Regions from separate parts of the Homo sapiens genome. Here regions 1, 2, 3, 4 and 6 are each linked to region 5. The links are contacts of gene promoters, found by promoter capture Hi-C in blood cells and fetal thymus (Javierre and others, 2016). All regions are on one chromosome and are shown on one strand. The core of a region is centred on a gene start or on the middle of the fragment in contact, and the rest is flanking DNA. Distances in the headings are between cores, read along the strand shown.

Region 1 (2,850 bases), core at 312-2,811, 330 kb after region 5:
GTTGCACAATAGCTGCTGGAATCCATAAGTTGAGCAACTTGCACCATATGCTTTGAATACTGTTAAGTAAATATTAAAAAGTGAAGATTGAGTACTTACTTATGCTGTCAATAAACTTGAAAGCAAGATTTCTTACACTAATGCCCATTGAATAACCAAGCAACCAAATAAACATTTAGTAAATAACTTTATGGGTAATTCCAGATGTCTATAAGCTTTTAAAAATCATTCATCAACCTGAACTAGTCCTAGCTTTCTGTTTTTAAGTTTCTCATTTTGCTATCGTTTTCATTAAATGTATCCCTGCACATACTTCAGAAAGTCAAATAATCCTAAATTATTATAAAATCTAACAGTTCCCTGTACATATCCCTCTTCCATTTCCCTTTCTTCAGAGGCAACCACATAAAATTGTTTTAACTGTTTATTTGGACATTTGCCTCGGAATCTCTAAATAACCTGCTTACACTGCTATTTTTTTTTTTTTTTTTTTTTTTTTTTGAGACAGGGTCTCACTCTCTTGCCCAGGCTGGAGTGAAGTGGTGCGATCTTGGCTCACTGCAGCCTCAATCTCCTGGGCTTCCCAAGTAGCTAGGACTACAGGCACATGCCACCATGCCTGGCTAATTTTTTTTTTTTTTTTTTTTTTTTAGAGCCGGGTCTTGCCACATTACCTAGGCTGGTCTCAAACTCCTGGGCTCAATTGATCTACCCACCGCAGCTTCACAAAGTGCTGGGATTACAGGCATGAGCCATGGTGCCTGGACTTATACTGCCATTTTTTTTTAAGTTATAAGTAAATTGTTCTATCATAAAGACACAGGTATGTGTATGTTCATTGCAGCACTATTCACAATAGCAAAGACATGGAATCGACCTAAATATCCATCAATGGTACACTGGATAAAGAAAATGTGGTACATATACACTATGGAATACTATGCAGCCATAAAAATGAATGAGATCATGTCTTTTGCAGCGACATGGATGGAGCTGGAGGCCATTATCCTTAGCAAACTAAAGCAGGAACAGAAAACCAAATACCTCATGATCTCACTTATAAGTGGGAGCCAAAGGATGAGAACACGTGAACGCCTAGAGGGGAAAAACGGCCTGTCAGAGGATGGAGGATGGGAAGAGGGAGGGGATCAGGAAAGATAACTAATGGGTGCCAGGCTTAATACCTGGGTGATGAAACAATCTGTACAATAAACCCCCAGCTTTACCTGTGTAACAAATCTGCACATGTCCCCTGAACTTAAAGTTTAAAAAAAAAAAGTATAATCTATTAACATTCCACTATGAAAGACGAGGATTTAGGTCTTTTCTAAGCCCTACTATCACCGCCATACATAAACACTCACTCTTCTCATCCTCCCACATGAAAGTTTTATGAAGAGTTTAGTCAGTGGGAGGCTTGAGGTGGGAGGATCTCATGCAATAGTTTGAGCCAAGAGTTCAAGACTATAGTGAGCTATGATCATGCCACTGTACTCCAGCCTGGGTGACAGAGCAAGACTTGGTCTCTAAAAATTAAAATAAAGTAAAATAAAATAGCTTAAGCCAGGCGTGGTGGCTTATCCCTGTAATCCCAGCACTTTGGGAGGCTGAGGCGGGCAGATCACTTGAGCCCAGGAGTTCGAGATCAGCCTGGGCAACATAGTGAAACCCTGTCTCTACTAAAAACGCAAAAACAATTAGCCGGGCGTGGTGGCACTTGCCTGTAATACCAGCTACTCAGGAGACTGAGGCAAGAGAATTGTTTGAACCCGGGAGGTGGAGGTTGCAGTGAGTCGAGATCACGCCACTGCACTCCAGCCTGGGTGACAGAGTGAGATTCCATCTCAAAAAATAGAATAGTTGAGTCAGATTCACTGTTGGTGTTATTATGGAAATGTTAGCCAAATTCACGGTACAGCCACATTTCTTTTTCTTCCCTGATAACATTTTCTTGTTCTTGGTGTTAATACATGTCCTTGTTTTCACTTAGTTCTCTATGCACTGTTCACTATTTTGTCTCCCTCTAATGGATCTTCTGTTTCCCGGCTCTCATATATTCTACTTTATTAATATAATACCTTATTTTAGTGGAACACGTCCTCCAGTAACTTTCAAAGAAAAAATAGATGGGTGGCCGGTGTTTTGAGATTGTTCGTGTATGCAAATGTCTTTATTTACTTACCACTGGATTCATAGTTTGGCTGCGTATATAATTCTCTACTTGAAACCACTTCTCCTCAAAATTTCAAAAGCATTGCTCCTTTGTCCCTTAGCTTGCAGTATTACCATTGAGAAGCCCAGTGCCATTATTTTGTCTGATTCTTCTGTAAGGAAAGATTTAAATATCTTTCCATTGTCCCTAGTGTTATGACATTTCATACTGGTGGGCTTCGTGTTTTGTTTCATTGTTTGTTTTTTTTTTTTGGAGATGGAGTCTCACTCCAGTCAGTCATGCAGGCTGGAGTGCAGTGGCGCGATCTTGGCTCAGTGCAACCTCTGCCTCCTGAGTTCAAGTGATTCTCCTGCCTCAGCCTCCAGAGGAGCTGGGACTACAGGCATATGCCACTGTGCCCGCTAATTTTTTTCTGTTTTTGGTAGAGACGAGGTTTCACCATGTTGGCCAGGCTGGTCTCAAACTCCTGACCTCAAGTGATCCACCCGCCTCGGCCTCCCAAAGTGCTGGGATTACAAGCATGAGCCACCACATCTGGCCTGGTGGGCTTTGTTTTTGTTCTATATCCATGTCATGGGCTCTGGACACTGTGGTGGACCTTTCTGTGTACAAGTTCACATCCCTCAATTCTGAGAAATCTTTTTGAATCATGTGATTAATAATTGTCTTCCTTCCAT
Region 2 (2,861 bases), core at 299-2,798, 410 kb after region 5:
ATTAAATTAAGCTATTTTTGGTGGGTATGAATTGATTAAATTAAGCCTCATCTTGCTAAAATGACATTTTCCTATCATTTTTTCATTACTATTCTTTTCTGTAGGAAGATATAAAATCATTAACTGCTCATGTAATTGAAAATTACTGGAAAGCACTGGAAGATGTAGATTATGTACAGACATTTAAAGGATTAAAACTGAGATTTGAACAACAAAGAGAAAGGCAAGATAATCCCAAACTTGACAGGTAAATTACCATATATTTAAACCTATTCGTTCAGCATCAAGTCGTATGGTAGTGGCTTTATTGTTTATTTGATATTATTTGGCTTGACAAGGAACAGGGAAATCAGCAGATAGCAAATAGAAATTGTAGCTTCCTGTAAGGGTCAACATAAATGTTTCCCTGAAGATTAGGCTGGTTATTAGTATAATACCTCAGGCATGTATCAGGCTAGATAAGGGAAAAAAAAAAAAAAAGACCAAACAGTGGAAGTGAGGCTTCATGTGTTCCAAATAAAATCAGAGGATTATATTACTTGCTTTGAATTTACAAGTTACTAAGGTTACAAATTATTATTTAAAATTTTGTACATTAATCTAAATACCTGGATTTACATTGATACTTTAATATTTGTAAATTTCATGTTAATTCCCTATGTTAACAAGTTTAATAAGTCATCTGTAACAGTACAATTAAGTCCATATATGATTGTATTTACTCTTTCTTCCCTACTCATAGTATGCGTTCCATTTTGAGGAATCACAGATATCGAAGAGATGCCAGAACACTAGAAGATGAAGAAGAGATGTGGTTTAACACAGATGAAGATGACATGGAAGATGGAGAAGCTGTAGTGTCTCCATCTGACAAAACTAAAAATGATGATGATATTATGGATCCAATAAGTAAATTCATGGAAAGGAAGAAATGTATGTTGGAAAAAAATGGGCAAGAGAAAATTAAGGCTTTCTTACTCTAGATTTATTCTTATTTCTTGACAAAATGATTATTTGCTTGGAAGGTGTGATGGCATACGGTTTAAAGACTCTATTGCTTTATGGGATGTGACTGAATAGCAGTGTTGTGTAGGCATAAACTTAAGTTTTCTTAATTTGAGTTGAATAAGGAATATACTATTTCAGGAAGGGTAGGGATACTAAATATGATTCTGAAGGTTTCAATTCTTCTCTGGGGTAAGATCCAATGAATGGAATTGTGGTTAGTATTTTGGTAAGCTTCTTTTATAAATTGAACTTCAATGTTTCTACCCAGCGTAGTAAGCTAGTTAAATGTGTTTTAGTGTTACCTCATTTGGGGAAATTTAAAAAAGAAGTATGGGGGACGACTATTGACAGTATTCTCATTTTTAGTAAAAGAAAGTGAGGAAAAGGAAGTGCTTCTGAAAACAAACCTTTCTGGACGGCAGAGCCCAAGTTTCAAGCTTTCCCTGTCCAGTGGAACGAAGACTAACCTCACCAGCCAGTCATCTACAACAAATCTGCCTGGTTCTCCGGGATCACCTGGATCCCCAGGATCTCCAGGCTCTCCTGGATCCGTACCTAAAAATACATCTCAGACGGCAGCTATTACTACAAAGGTACATTCTTGACTCCCATTTTGCCCCCTTTTTTCCCAATTGAAGCTTTCTCAACAATAATTTTGACTAAGATTCCCTTTGGTTACTGCCACCTAGAACTGATTTAACATCCCTGAACTAGAGGATGAGTCCCCCCCACCGCTTGAACTTATATAAAGGTTGAGAAATTTCTGAAAGTTTTTTTTATGACCAATGCAAGTCTGCATATAGTGTGAATTCTCACTTGGGTATTTTGGATTTTAGAACTGAAACTTCAAATTTGTATGTCAAAACATTTACAGAAATGTTCAAGGTTTTCAGTTATTCTTGAATAAATGTTCCTAACTAATACCCAGATAAAGCCTTTGTGGGGAAATGATAATCTAAATATCTGGGTACTTCTAACTTTACTTTGCCAGTTAAGGTTTGTTAAGAAAATTAAACATCTACTATCACTAACATTTCATATAAGAAATGAACAAGGGCTGGGCACGGTGGCTCACGCCTGTAATCCCAGCACTTTGGGAGGCTGAGGCGGGCAGGACACGAGGTCAGGAGATCGAGACCGTCCTGGCTAACGTGGTGAAACCCCGTTTCTACTAAAAATACAAAAATTAGCCAGGCGTGGTGGCGGGCGCCTGTAGTCCCAGCTACTCTGGAGGCTGAGGCAGGAGAATGGCATGAACCTGGGAGGCGGAGCTTGCAGTGAGCTGAGATCGCTACTGCAACAGCGAGACTCCATCTCAAAAAAAAAAAAAAAAAAAGGAACAAAATCTTAAGAAAAAATGTAGAAAACATGCAATCTCAGAATAAAACCAGTTTTGGGGGCTCCTTATGCCAACCACCCTTTTCTTTTGAGACATAATATATTGATTATTGGGCTAGCAGACTAGCAGTTAAAAGACTGGCATTTGGGAATCACTGATCTAAATCAGACACGTAATGCCCATTCAGTCTTTTTTTTTTCTGGCGTGAGCTGGAGACTCCTGACGGCTAAGAAGTGAATCTGAGACACGCTGAAATGAAGAGGCAGGCTTGAGAGCAGAGCAGTGTGAATTTTTCCCTTAGCATCGAAATAAAGCAAGCAGCAGCCAGGCGCGGTGGCTTACGCCCGTAATCCCAGTGCTTTGGGAGGTCCAGGGGGGTGGGTCACGAGGTCAGGAGATCCGAGACCATCCTGGCTAATACGGTGAAACCCCGTCTCTACTAAAAATACAAAAACATTAGCCGCGTGTGGTGGCGGGCGCCTGTAGTCTCAACTACTCAGGAGGCTGAGGCAGG
Region 3 (3,134 bases), core at 118-2,617, 320 kb after region 5:
CTAACCATCTATGATTGTGTTTATTTTTATTCTTAGAGTGCTTCCTACATATTGTTAGACTCAATGATAAAAATTGTAGTATAAGAAAATAACAATCATTTTTTAACTGGAGACCTACAGGATGTGAAATTATTCTTGTTGGTATAAAAATGAAAATATGTTTTATTATGGAAAACCCTTTAAACACAGACTAACCTATGAGCCATCATATCCACAGATAAATTGAAATATGATAATCTTATAAAGAATCCCATATACTGTATATGTGAATTAAACTCCTTTTTAGAAGTTGCAACATTTCCATAGAGTCTCTCTGGGGAGTTGTTTGTTTTTTGTTCTTTGTTTTTCTTTTTTCTTTTCCTTAAGTAAAATATTCTCAAGTTAACAGTTAAATCTTCAGTTAAATATGAAAAATTTCACACATATTGGTCTCCTTGGGCTGCCATAACTAAATACCATACACTGGGTAGCTTAAACAATCAACATTTATTGCTAACAGTTCTGGAGGCAGGGAAGTCCAAATCAAGATGCCAGCTGATTTGGTTTCTGGTGAGTTCTCTCTTCCTGGCTTGCAGATGGCAGCCTTCCTGCTGTGTCACATATTGAAACAGTTACTGAATATAAATTCTTATCATTCATAGACAGGCTACTAAAAGGATGACAACTTTTTAAAAATTTTTTTGTAGAGACAAAGTCTCCCTATGTTGCCCAGGCTGGTCTTGAACTCTTGAGCTCAAGAGATCCTCCTGCTGTGGCCTCCCAAAGTGCTGAGATTACAGGGGTGAGCCACTGTGCCTGGACAGGATGACAACGGAAAATACTTGTTCACTGTACGTTTATTGAGTTTCTCATTTAAATCAATCAATGGATCAATATCAACATGTCATTTAGCAGTCTAAATTTTATGGCAATATTATGTAAGCATTAATCCATTGATTGATTTAAATGAGAAACTCAATAAACATACAGTGAACAAGTGTTTTGATTATATTAAACCCATTAGAATCTTGGTGCACCCCCGCTATCCCTACAACTTAAGTTAATAGAACATCTGGGAATGAAATGCAAGGTTTTAATTTTACTACAACTGCTTTTCATGTTTAAAACAATTGTTGATACAAAGCATTCAGGTGATGACATCCATGTAACCAAGGTGAGTGAAGCTGAACCCTACTAGGAAGAAATAAGATTCAAGTAAATAATGTGTATTAGTTATGTAGGCTGGGTGTGATGGCTCATGCCTGTAATCACACTTTGGGAGGCTGAGGCAAGATGATCTGTTGAGGACAAAAGTTCAAGACCAGCCTGGGCAACATAGTGAGACCCCATCTCTACATAAAATATTTTTAAATATTAGCCAGGCATGATGACACACACCTGCCGTCCTAGCTACCCAGGAGACTAAGGCAGGAGAATTGCCTGAGCCCAGAAATTCAAGACTGCGATGAGCTATGATTGAGCCACTGCACTCCAGCCTAAGCAACAGAGTGAGACCTTGTCTCTAAACAAACAAAAAAAAAAGAAAGAAAGAAAAGAAAAAGAAGAAAACCTAAGAAATATAAATAAAAAGTGAAATAGTGAAGCTAAAGAAAAACAAATATATTGAATTCTATGTCAATTAAAAAAATGTCTATTAAGAATGAGAGAAAAATGGAAATATTTTTAGACAAATAAAAGCTAAGAGAGTTTGCCAGGATCAAAATCCACTATAGGAAATTATAAAAGAAGCATTTCTGGCAAAAGGAAAATGATCCCATATGAAGGGTCCGAGTTGGGAGAAAAAAAATAAAGGTAAAATAGGTAACAATAAGTGGGTAACTCCAAATGTATTAAACAAGAAAAAGAATGTCCTGTAGAGTTCTAAGTAGATATACAGTACTAAGCAAATATTAGCAATAGGATAGTTGGTTTGACCATAATGATATCAGATCAAATTGACTTTAGGGCAAAAACCAATACCAGAGATAATGATAGTCACTTTATAATAATAAAAGGTCAATTAACCAGGAAGATACAACCATTTAAAATTTGTACTGTAGGCCGGGCACAGTGGCTCACACTTGCAATCCCAGCACTTTTGGAGACCAAGGTAGGAGGGTCCCTTGAGCCCAGGAGTTCAAGACCAGCCTGGGCAACATAGAGAGACCTCGACTCTATACAAATAATTAATTAATTAATTAAATTTGTACTGTAGTCCCAGCTACCTGGAAGGCTGAGAAAGGAGGATCGCTTGAGCCCAGGAGTTCAAAATCAGCCTGGGCAACATAGCAAGACCCTGCCTCTAATGTTTAAAAAATAAATGCACCCAGGCACGGTGGCGCATGCCTGTAATCTCAGCACTTTGGGAGGCCGAGGTAGGTGGATCACTTGAGGTCGGGAGTTCCAGACCAGCCTGGACAACATGGTGAAGCCCCATCTCTACTAAAAACACAAGTTAGCTGGGCGTGGTGGCGCATGCCTGTAATCCCAGCTACTCAGGAGGCTGAGGCACGAGAATCACTTAAACTCAGGAGGTGGAGGTTGCAGTGAGCTGAGATTATGGCACTGCCCTCCAGCCTGGGCAACACAGCAAGACCCTGTCTCAAAAAATAAATAAAAATATATACGTGTGTGTGTGTGTATATATATATATATAATCAGTTTTGAGACATACTTTGTCAGAGATATCTGCTATTGCCTGCATATTATCTTCTGGATTATAACCTGGCACTTTTATCATAATTATGAAGGTGGCTAGGTTTCCAGTAAATATCAGCATTTTATATGGACAAAAGCAGTTAATAAAAATCAGTTCATTTACTATAAGCCAAATGTGCTTGTTCTTAATCTCACCCTTTCCCAAAGTTTTTGAAGCTTTGATGTGTTGGTTTTTGGTCTGTCCTTAATATAAAATGTACTTACAGACACTTCTGCAGTTAACCCTGAAATTACAAATTGATGACACTTCAAGGCAAAGCAGGAGCATTATCTGTTCCTTCAGTGTCCCCTCACTGAATTCTGACTTCTGCTGCTCCATCATACCATCTGGCTGAACGCTGACATTTCATAGTTTACCACTGTAAAGACACCGACCTATGTGAGTTTAAAAGTGATCTGCACAATCTGTGAAATTTTATATACAACAAATTGGTTTT
Region 4 (3,276 bases), core at 348-2,847, 290 kb after region 5:
ACTGCAAGTTCCGCCTCCCGGGTACATGCCATTCTCCTGCCTCAGCCTCCCGAGTAGCGGGGACTACAGGCACCCGCCACCATGCCTGGCTAAATTTTTTGTATTTTAGGTAGAGATGGGGTTTCACCATGTTAGCCAGGATGGTCTCAATCTCCTGACCTCGTGATCTGCCCGCCTTGGCCTCCCAAAGTGCTGGGATTACAGGCATGAGCCACCGTGCCCAGCCACAAGTGAAATTTTTACATCATCTGGTGGAGTGACTGAAATTTCATTAGGCAGAAATGAACAAGGAAGGCATTCTGGATGGAGAGACCAGGTACAGATATGGGAAAGTGATGCAGGACTTTTCTTGGCCACTTTGCCAACCGGGGACCTCCACAGCTGGTGACATCCTCCACCTGGGCCTTGCTCAGCCCTGAGCCTGCCACTGGAGGCACCCTGCCCACTTGTCCCAACTATGTTGTAGTGTGTACCCATGTTCCTGTCCTGCATCCAAGTATAATGAGGAAACACTAACAATTGAAGAGTGAGGAGGGCAAAGAATAATTTTACTGAGTGATGGAACAGCTCTCAGCAGACAGGGGACGTAGGGTGTGGTCCCTCACCCCTGCAGTCAGGTGGTTTCTTTGCCAGTGTGGCTGAGTGGGGCCTTTATGCACTCAGAATAGGGGAGAGTGTGCTGACTGGCTTATGAGTAAGCAAAGAAAGGCTAAAGCAAAGGTACCACTCAAAGGTGGGCACAGCAGTGTAGAAAACCAATTAGGAAGGGTAGGTATATGTAAAACAGTTGAAGGGTGGGATCAGTCAGAGGAAAGCACGCCAAACAGGAAGACAGGTTCTGAATTCGGTATGTGGATTTACCTGGGACTGCCTTCAGCTTGAAGGTCAGGTTTCACCGGCGACCCACCCCTATCTGCCTAGGCATTTGACTGCCTCCTGTCACAATCAAAAGCATAAAGTTTGCTTTTTGAATAGCTCAAATCCATTTGGCTGGAATATAAGGTTATTTAGAAGAAAGCCAGGTAGGTTAGGGTCCAATTGTGGAAGGCTTTGAATGTCAGAGTGAAAGCTTTAGAACACTCCTGTCAACATTCCTGTCAACATTCCTGTCAACAATGAAAAGCTATTAAACATTTTTGGAAAAAGGTGTTTATACACAGACTGGTGTTTTATACAAAGATAAATCTGGCAATGTTAGGATGTCAACACGGACTGGTGGGCTGGGAAGGAGGCTACTAGAGTAGCCTATTTATGAAAAGTGGCACAATAATCACAGTAGCAGTACTGAAAGAATGGAAAGAATGAATGTGAGGGGAATTTTAGAGAATGTATAGCATGGAGGGACTGTTTCTAAGAAATCAGCTACCTCCTTGGGTCACTGGGAGGATGGTGGTACCTTTAACTTGAGCTAGACCTTAAAGCAGCCTGTCATCCTTTTTCTTGTCCTTTGCACTTTCCCACATTCCCTACTGTCCTAGTTCCATTCATCAGCACGTTCTTCTCCCACAAAAGACGATCTGGCTTCCTGCTTCACAAAGGAAACATAAGCCTGGGCTTGAACCCCCTACTCTCTTTATGCCCCACTTCTATATTTAACATACAATGACCCCACCCTTGCCTCACATCTCAGAGAAAAAGACATCACTGTCCCTCTCTGTCAATAATCCTATCTGTCCTCCAGAAATTTACTTGCTTCTGTTAATTAGCTATTCATGCAGAGGAAACATTTTGAATACATAAAAAGTTACCTATACTGGCAGCACCTACAAAGAGGATTTTCTAAAGAGGTGGTAACTTGAAAGAGCACAGACATATGCCTCTACCTGGAATGTTCCTTTATCTCCTTCTCTTCTGTGAACCTACTTATTCGTCATGATCCAGCTCAGAAAGCGCATTCCCTGACTGCCCTAGGCAGGTAGGCATTCCCTCCTCCACATTCCCAGAGCTCTTTGCCCATTCCTCTGAGACTGAACAGAGAATGTTCTGCTGTATAAGCATTTTATCTGCCTCCTTCCACCATTAAAGACAGGGTAAAGGCATAGGATAATACATGGACTTCTTAGCCCCTATTTATTGTAGGCAAATTGTTACTTGTTCAACTGTCAAGAGACTGTTTCCAAGCTTTGTGGATGCTGAATGTCTTTGTAACTCTGGGCAGCGTTTTGCTCTCCGATTAATTGTGGGGAACATTAAATTTTCAGTGTTTTGCATTGCTAAATTCAGAAAGCTTAAAGACTTTGCTTTTTCTGTTGCAGATTTATGTTGATGAGGCACCATTGCCATTCCCAGGACACACGCTTATTGCCGTGGCAACAGCGGTAGTGCTAGGGGGATTAATTTTTATAGCATTTATGTTTCAACTGCAAGGCATCCATCCGTGGAGGACATTCCAAAGATGGATTAGAAGAAACCAAGAGAAGTTTTCAAGTATCTCTCTCAGTGAGCTGATTCATAGATCAAAGTCTGAAGAGTGAACACATGGTGATCATAATTTCTCTTTATTTTCTAGTTTTATCAGCCAATTCCTAGAACAATATATTTAAATGTTAAATATGCAAGCTACATAAAATCCTAAAGAATTGTCATTATAATTCAAATTGCTACTTGTCAATATATTCACCATTTCCTTTTCTTATTTTGAATACATAGAAAATGTCTTATGCCAGGGCTTATGTTGAAGATCTTCCTTGAGGTTTTTAGAAAAGTATAAAATGATAACCAACTCGACATGGAACAGGTGTTCTGTGTTGTTCAGCTCTTAGTGCCTGGAGCCCATTCTGTGGGGTCAGAACCCCTGAGCTCTGCTCCTTCCAGATAGAGTTTGAGTAGAGTGCAGTTATGCCAGGGTGAGATAGGAGTGAAGACAGCGGATCAGCAGCAGTGTTTTCAGAGCCTTGTGGGAATGAAAGAGGAAGCCATTCAAGTTTCTTTGGGCAACTTCAAAACCAGATTGTAGTACCTAAAGAGAGAAATGTGACCCCATCATTAGGGTGTTAGAAGAACGCGGTGTCTGAGCAGGGTATTGGTTTATAAACCTACATGCAGCATGGAGAATTCCAAAAGCTATATCTCTGTGTGCTCTCAAAGTAAATGTCCCCAGATAGTCAGAAGATGACCATAACATTCAGAGATCAGAGCCTCATGCTCCCTGGAAAAGCTCAGAAGGGGAGCACAGTTTTGACAACATAAGGAAAGGAAGGCATCCAATCCAGGTCTGAGATCTATCATTGAAATTCCTTAGAGAGGGCAGTGCGGCAGGTAGGCAAGAGAATCAGA
Region 5 (3,164 bases), core at 476-2,975:
GTGGGGCAGAGAAATAGGGGTCGTGGGGAAGTTAGGGGGAGGCATCATCCCTGAGTCCTGTTTCATCTGATTAGAAAACAACCAACAATCCTTCTCTTACGTAGATTATTTCCGGTGCTCCTGCAGAACAGGAATGTATTCAAGTTACTTTAAACCAGTGGCCTTCAACCCTGGCTGCATAGACGGATAACCAGTAGAACTTTGGAGGAAAGATTGATTCCCCGGGACATGCCCCCAGACACTCTGATGTCATTGGGCTTAGGTAGGGCCCGGCCATCAGGATTTTTGAAAACTTGACTATGTAGCCAGAGTTGAGAATGTATTGTTATAAACCCTAGAAAGAGAGGTGGACAGATGGGGCTGGAGCCCTAGCTGCCTTGCCCTCAATGTCTTTTCTGCTCATTGTAGGATACATTATTCTTTTCCTGGTCAGGGCCTCTGGACATCCTTCAAGTCTTAGAACCCTGTGCAGGGGCCAAGAGAGTCAACATTGCAAGTCACAGGAGAACAGGTTGGGATGGCTGTCTTTATGTGCCATCCCAGGAATCAACCCAAGGCTTCAGGAAAAAAGTGCACTCCCTGATAGCTGAGGTGGAGTCTACAGATCCATCTGAGGGTGCTCCCATCCTACCTGTTGGTGAGGTATTCATTAAGGACCCCCACAGTGCCTATCAGGAGTTGTGTCCTGGACCCCTAGTCTTAGTAGGCATTCCACAGATCCTTGTGATATGGACAGGAGACAGGGAAATACTGGGTAGAAGAGGGTGGTTCCCTGGCAAAGGCCCCACCCTCAAGCCTGGGTACCCATGGCCCTAAATGAGGACAGCCATTCCTGTTTTCATCCCTAAAAAGTTGCCTTTTGGCCTGCCATGTCCCCTATCCTGTACCCATATAAACCCTGAACCCCAGGCTCCAGGCTCCAGAAGCAGACGGGGAGACAAGAAGATGAGCAGACATGAATGGCAGAAAAGCACGGCAAAGAAGGAGAGAAGAGAAGGAACATTGGGAGGAATTCGACTGGAGACGATCTGAAAACTGGCCACTGGATGGCCAAACTCCAGGGGAAGATCATCTTCCCACTCCATCCCCTGTCCAGCTCCCCATCCATCCTACTTAGAGCCACCTCCACCACTCAATAAAACCCCTGCATTCATCCTGCAAATCCATGTGTGACCTGATCCCTCCGGGATGCTGGACAAGAGCTCGGGATACAGGAAACTGTCACACTGGCCCTCTGCCCTGGCAAAAAGGGAGAGGGTCCACTAAGCTGGTTAACGCTTAAGCTGTCCACGGATGGCAAGGCTGAAAGACTGCACTGTTTCAGTGCCTACTCGGGCTTTGGAAGTCACAGACACCGACCCCGGGATGCTGTCATGGGGCTGGGGCCCAAAAGTGCTCACCCTGGTTCCTGCACCTGCCTGTCTGCGTGCTCCCCTTCCCATAAGGGGTTTTAGCTTGGGGTGGCTGAAGAGAGAGCCACACCCCTGTTGCACATCCTGTGAGGGGGCCAGGGAATTCTCCTGTTCCACTTAGTAGTATCTTAGGCCTTCAGTGGAAGGAAACAGCATGTTCCACGCCCTGTAGCATCCAAGAAGCTGCAAGTCCTCCCTCCTCACCCCAAGAGCATTTCTCACACCCACACCACACACCTCACTTTGCTGTTGGCTGTGGTTATTTTTTTCTCTAACTAAGCACATCTAAACCATGCCTAGTTGTGGTTCTTCAGTCAGGGTCAAGTGGTGTTAGCAATCACATCAGCACCAAATGGCTCAGGATGCTCTGGTTTCAAAGCTTATAAAACAGAGGGTGATTCCCTTGGGACTCACTCAGCTCGGCTCCGAAAAGCAAAGGCCAGAAGGCAGCAGTGAGCCTGGGTCCCTGCTGTGTAGGGAGACTCAGGGGCTGGGAAGAAGGATGGAATCAGAAATGCTGAAGGTTTACGTGAGCTTTGCACCGAGCGCCTCCGAACCACTGCCTCTGGGCTCAACAGAACACAGGGGTAAGTCTCCATGAACTTCTCAAAAAGAAAACTGGGAAGCTTTCTGTCTTGATGATTTGAGGACCCACTGGTTTCAGAGGTGCCACATTTGGAACCAGATCCGAGTCTTTAAGGTTTGTGTTTTATTTGTTCATGTCAAAATGTGGCTTCCTGCTTCTAAGAAAAGAAACTCAGGCTCATAAAAGCAGCCTCCAAGGGCTTCTTGGACCTCAAATTGCGCTTTCAAAATGTGGTCTGATGGGTTCAGTGTAAATGCACCAGAGGCATGTGGGATCCATTTACCTTAAAATACACTTGGGCCTAAAAATTAAGAGAAAAACAGTCCAGGGCAAAGTGTATACTGCAAAGTCAAGCTCCAAACATTTGGGAAACAGTTCTAGAGGCTGCTGGAACCCCAAATGCTACTTGCTTTACCTACCCCTTGGGAATCATCAAATGTTATTTTTTGTACAAGACTGGGGATGAGCCTGCTCTCTGATCCCAGTGCTGTGCTCTGCTGTGCAGTTCTAATGGGGCAGGCTGTTTCCTGGACCCTGAGATCTCCAGGCTCCCTGTGCCTATTCCTTGTCAGCTTTGCCCCATCCAGGAGCTGGGCTGAGCTTGTCAAGTGACCTCTGCTTTGTACCACTCCATCAGGTCCTGAAGAATGAAGGGTACCAAGGTGGAAGGGGCGCAGGATTAAGAGTAGGGACGCCTGCAAAAGCTCTCGTGTTACCACCTCATCTTCCAACTTTCATGTGGGTGAAAACGTTCATCCTAAATAATTGCTTCTAATTCTGAAGTTTTGTGATTCCTTGAAATGTACTTTGGGGATGACAGCCAGCATTTCCATTTCACTGCAATTTCAGAGTTTTGCAGTGGTTTGCCAATCATAACACTTTCTAATTGGCACAAAATCCACCTACCTGTTGCCTCTCAGGCTTGGGTAACATACTTCAGACACTTTCTTAGGTAAGTCTTGGCCCTTGGGGTGTTATTTGCCCAGATGGTAAAAACATTTAAGTAGGTCTGATTATTTCATTTTCAGTGGTTTCAACGCATTTTTGTGGCCTGGGTGGTTACTGTAATGTGCCCAAGTTGTTCATTCTGAGCCAACGGGGTCACCCACAGAGAGAAGACTTGACAAAGGAACTCTCCTCTACTCCCCTCTTGCCAGATGAAATAT
Region 6 (3,183 bases), core at 324-2,823, 450 kb after region 5:
ATCCTTTATGTTTTTCCTGAATTTGACAATAATATTAATTCCCAATTTTTTTTTCTTTTTTTTTTTTAGATGGAGTCTTGCTCTGTCACCCAGGCTGGAGTGCAGTGGCGCAATCTCAGCTCACTACAACCTCCGCCCCCAGGGTTCAAGCGATTCTCCTGCCTCAGCCTCCTGAGTAGATGGGATTACAGGTGCACGCCACCACGCCTGGCTAATTTTTGTATTTTTAGTAGAAATGAGGTTTCATCATGTTGGTCAGGCTGGTCTCGAACTCCTGACTTGTGGTCTGCCCACCTTGACCTCTCAAAGTGCTGGGATTATAGGCGTGAGCCACCTCGCCCAGCCTAATTTCCAATATTTTAAGAATGTTCCAGCCCAGCATGGCGGCTCATGCCTGTAATCCCAGCATTTTGGGAGGCCGAGGCAGGAGGATCACTTCAGCTCAGGAGTTTGAGACCAGCCTGGGCAACATAGCAACCTTGTCTCTACTAAGATTTAAAAAATTTAAAAAAAAAATTATCCGGGCATGGTGGGGCTCACCTGTAGTCCCAGCTACTAAGAAGCCTGAGGCAGGAGGATCACGTGAGCCCAGGAGACTGAGGCTGCAGTGAGCTATGATTGCTCAGCCATTACACTTCTAGCCTGGGCAACAGAGCGAGACTCTGTCTCAAAAATAAATAAATAAATAAATAAATAAAGTAAATAAAAGAACGTTCCAAAATGTCAGATCTGTGACAGAATATAAAACTATCATAGAATATAGTATTTTGTGGCCAGCCATAGTGGCTCACACCTGTAATCTCAGCACTTTGTGAGGCCGAGGCGGGCAGATCACCTGAGGTCAGGAGTTTGAGAACCGCCTGGCCAACATGGCGAAACCTTGTCTCTACTAAAAATACAAAAATTAGCTCGGCATGGTAGTGAGCTGAGATAGCTTGACCCCTGGGAGACAGAGGTTGCAGTGAGCCAAGATTGCGCCACTGCACTCCAGCCTGGGTGACAGAGCAAGACTCAGTCTCGAAAAAAAAAAAAAATAGCCATTCCCTCTCCCCACCCCAAGTTGTAGTAACAATTTAAGCTCCTGCTCCTATCAGGTGAAGTAGAAATGCCATTAGCTAACACTGCTGAGTCAGTATTTTCTGAGAGGGTAGAAAATTCCTTTATCAGAAGAACACAAAATACTGCTTCTACCCAGGAAGCAATGTATTAAGCAATAGATACATTTATATCCAGAGATTAACAAGGAAAAACTTAAAAATAAAGAGTTAAGGCTCAGATGGATGGAGTGAAAGCCAAGGGTGTTCTGGAAGGATGGAGGAGGGGCATTGGGACTCTCTGTGTAGTGGTCAGTGGAGGGTCTGTGCATTTGCTCCTTGAAGCTTATGCCCCAGCCCGACGGAGACTTCGGGGAAACAATTTTTATTAAAGCAAGGGTAGCAGAATGGGGCAGGAGATGAGGAAGAGACAGTGATTATGTATCTCTATAAAGCTTTATGGCTTCCACAATCTTTTTACATGCATCACCTTGAGCTTTAATATTGTCTTGTCAAGTCACATGGGGAAAATGGTCTTATCTTGATTTTGCAGATTAAGTGACTTCTAGGAGGAAACTTGTCCAGGCCAAACTTGTCCCGTCCTTTGAAGCCTTCCAAGCTTGCTACACCTGGGGCACCATCCAGTTTGCCTGCCCCATTGCCTCCTAGGGAACAAGGGAGCTGAGTTAGATCCTTTTAATCCTGGTGGCGTAGTCAAGCCAAGGCATGGTAGCAGATACATCAATGATTATGAACCAACACAGCAGCTAACTGACCCCAAAGCAAACATTCCTGACATGGCTGTGGCCCAGGGCCTTGTCAATGTCCCCAGGGGAAAATTCCCTCACCAGGATGGGAAAAGTCTCACAACTGTCAGAAGGCATTTGTCCACTGTATTTCTTAGTGTGAAAGAATAAGCTTACTCAATAAATTTTTTTTTTTGAGACAGAGTCTTGCTCTGTCACCCAGGCTGGAGTGCAATGGTGCAATAGCAGCTCACTGCAACCTTCCCCTCCCGGGTTCGAGTGATTCTCAGCCTCCAGAGTAGCTGGGATCACAGGTGTGCACCACCACACCCAGCTAATTTTTCTATTTTTTTTGGCCAGGCTGGTCTTGAACTCTTGGGCTGAAGTGATCCACCTACTTAGGCCTCCCAAAGTGCTGGGATTACAGGTGTGAGGCACTGCACCCGGCCTCAATAAATAACTTTAAAGATTCCTCATCCTTGTCTTTCCAAAAAAATTGGAAAAACAACTTTGGCCGCATCTGCATCCCTTACTTTTCAGAAGAGAGGCTTCCGAGCGAAGAGCGGTGTGTGTACACATCATACCTATTTTTGAACTAACTTACATTATGAGCAATTAAGGAACTTTTTTAAATAAAAGATTTTTAGCCGGGCGCGGTGGCTCACGCCTGTAATCCCAGCACTTTGGGAGGCCGAGGCAGGCGGATCACGAGGTCAGGAGATAGAGACCATCCTGGCTAACACGGTGAAACCCCGTCTCTAGTAAAAAATACAAAAAATTAGCCGGGCGTGGTGGTGGGCGCCTGCAGTCCCAACTACTCTGGAGGCTGAGGCAGGAGAATGGCGCGAACCCGGGAGGCGGAGTTGCAGTGAGCAGAGAGCACGCCACTGCACTCCAGCCTGGGCAACAGAGTGAGACTCTGTTGTCTCAAAAAAAAAAAAAAAAAAAAAAAAGAGAAAAGAAAAAAAGATTTTTATTTCAGATAAAATTAATATTTCCATAATTAGGATACACACATAATTAGCAAACACACATTCTTGAGTCCATTATTTAAGGTTTATTCTATAAACGACTTCCATGAGTATTAGAGATCCTGAATGTCATCTGAATATTTGTCTACACACTTGTGGGCAGCTTCTGTAGACTTTTCTTTGTAGAAATTCCAGTTTTTCTGAATTCTTCCTTTTCCTTCAGGTTTTCCACTTTGCATTATTCATAAAAGGCTGGGTCATTATAGTGAGCTGTTAAGACATTCTTTCAATGCAGAATTTTCTTTCCAGCATTTTACTACCATAAGGATTCCAGAGTTCTTGCAACATTTGGTAAAATCTTGAACTTGTCAGAAGACCTCTCTCTGGCCTTTTCTCTCATTATTTTAGGGATCAAAACATCTTTTTCGACAC

Evidence for each region. The method cuts DNA at HindIII sites, captures the fragments that hold promoters and counts their contacts. A CHiCAGO score of 5 or more calls a contact.
Region 1: a contact is called between a fragment that was not itself captured here and the fragment with the promoter of TC2N in region 5, in 3 of 17 cell types (M1 macrophages, megakaryocytes and M2 macrophages). The highest score is 8.3, in M1 macrophages.
Region 2: a fragment that was not itself captured here is called in contact with the fragment with the promoter of TC2N in region 5 in 1 of 17 cell types (naive CD4 T cells); the score reaches 5.7 in naive CD4 T cells.
Region 3: a fragment that was not itself captured here is called in contact with the fragment with the promoter of TC2N in region 5 in 2 of 17 cell types (M1 macrophages and M2 macrophages); the score reaches 7.3 in M1 macrophages.
Region 4: a contact is called between a fragment that was not itself captured here and the fragment with the promoter of TC2N in region 5, in 1 of 17 cell types (M1 macrophages). The highest score is 5.3, in M1 macrophages.
Region 6: a contact is called between a fragment that was not itself captured here and the fragment with the promoter of TC2N in region 5, in 1 of 17 cell types (non-activated CD4 T cells). The highest score is 5.2, in non-activated CD4 T cells.

The regions. Positions count from the first base shown.
Region 1 is chr14:91,532,368-91,535,217 of GRCh38, reverse strand. All of the region lies in intron 2 of LOC101928957 (a long non-coding RNA gene), which reads left to right. Among named protein-coding and RNA genes, the nearest start is that of PPP4R3A, 23 kb to the right of the region's middle. The HindIII fragment of the contact is 2,688 bases long and covers 218-2,850 here.
Region 2 is chr14:91,460,121-91,462,981 of GRCh38, reverse strand. It overlaps PPP4R3A (protein phosphatase 4 regulatory subunit 3A), which reads left to right. Exons shown (of 15, transcript NM_001366432.2): 12 at 105-247; 13 at 743-933; 14 at 1,375-1,601. Among named protein-coding and RNA genes, the nearest start is that of CCDC88C-DT, 43 kb to the right of the region's middle. The HindIII fragment of the contact is 201 bases long and covers 1,448-1,648 here.
Region 3 is chr14:91,549,706-91,552,839 of GRCh38, reverse strand. All of the region lies in intron 2 of LOC101928957 (a long non-coding RNA gene), which reads left to right. Among named protein-coding and RNA genes, the nearest start is that of PPP4R3A, 41 kb to the right of the region's middle. The HindIII fragment of the contact is 2,976 bases long and covers 1-2,855 here.
Region 4 is chr14:91,580,087-91,583,362 of GRCh38, reverse strand. CATSPERB (catsper channel auxiliary subunit beta) reads left to right here. Exons shown (of 27, transcript NM_024764.4): 27 at 2,256-2,665. The coding sequence ends at 2,474. Among named protein-coding and RNA genes, the nearest start is that of PPP4R3A, 71 kb to the right of the region's middle. The HindIII fragment of the contact is 1,052 bases long and covers 1,072-2,123 here.
Region 5 is chr14:91,866,097-91,869,260 of GRCh38, reverse strand. TC2N (tandem C2 domains, nuclear) reads left to right here and starts at 1,725. Exons shown (of 12, transcript NM_001128596.3): 1 at 1,725-1,999. RefSeq lists an enhancer at 1,510-1,559. The HindIII fragment of the contact is 17,848 bases long and covers 1-1,793 here.
Region 6 is chr14:91,419,465-91,422,647 of GRCh38, reverse strand. It overlaps CCDC88C-DT (CCDC88C divergent transcript), which reads right to left. Exons shown (of 3, transcript NR_184261.1): 2 at 1,525-1,699. It also overlaps the pseudogene LOC112268126. Among named protein-coding and RNA genes, the nearest start is that of CCDC88C-DT, 2.8 kb to the right of the region's middle. The HindIII fragment of the contact is 164 bases long and covers 1,492-1,655 here.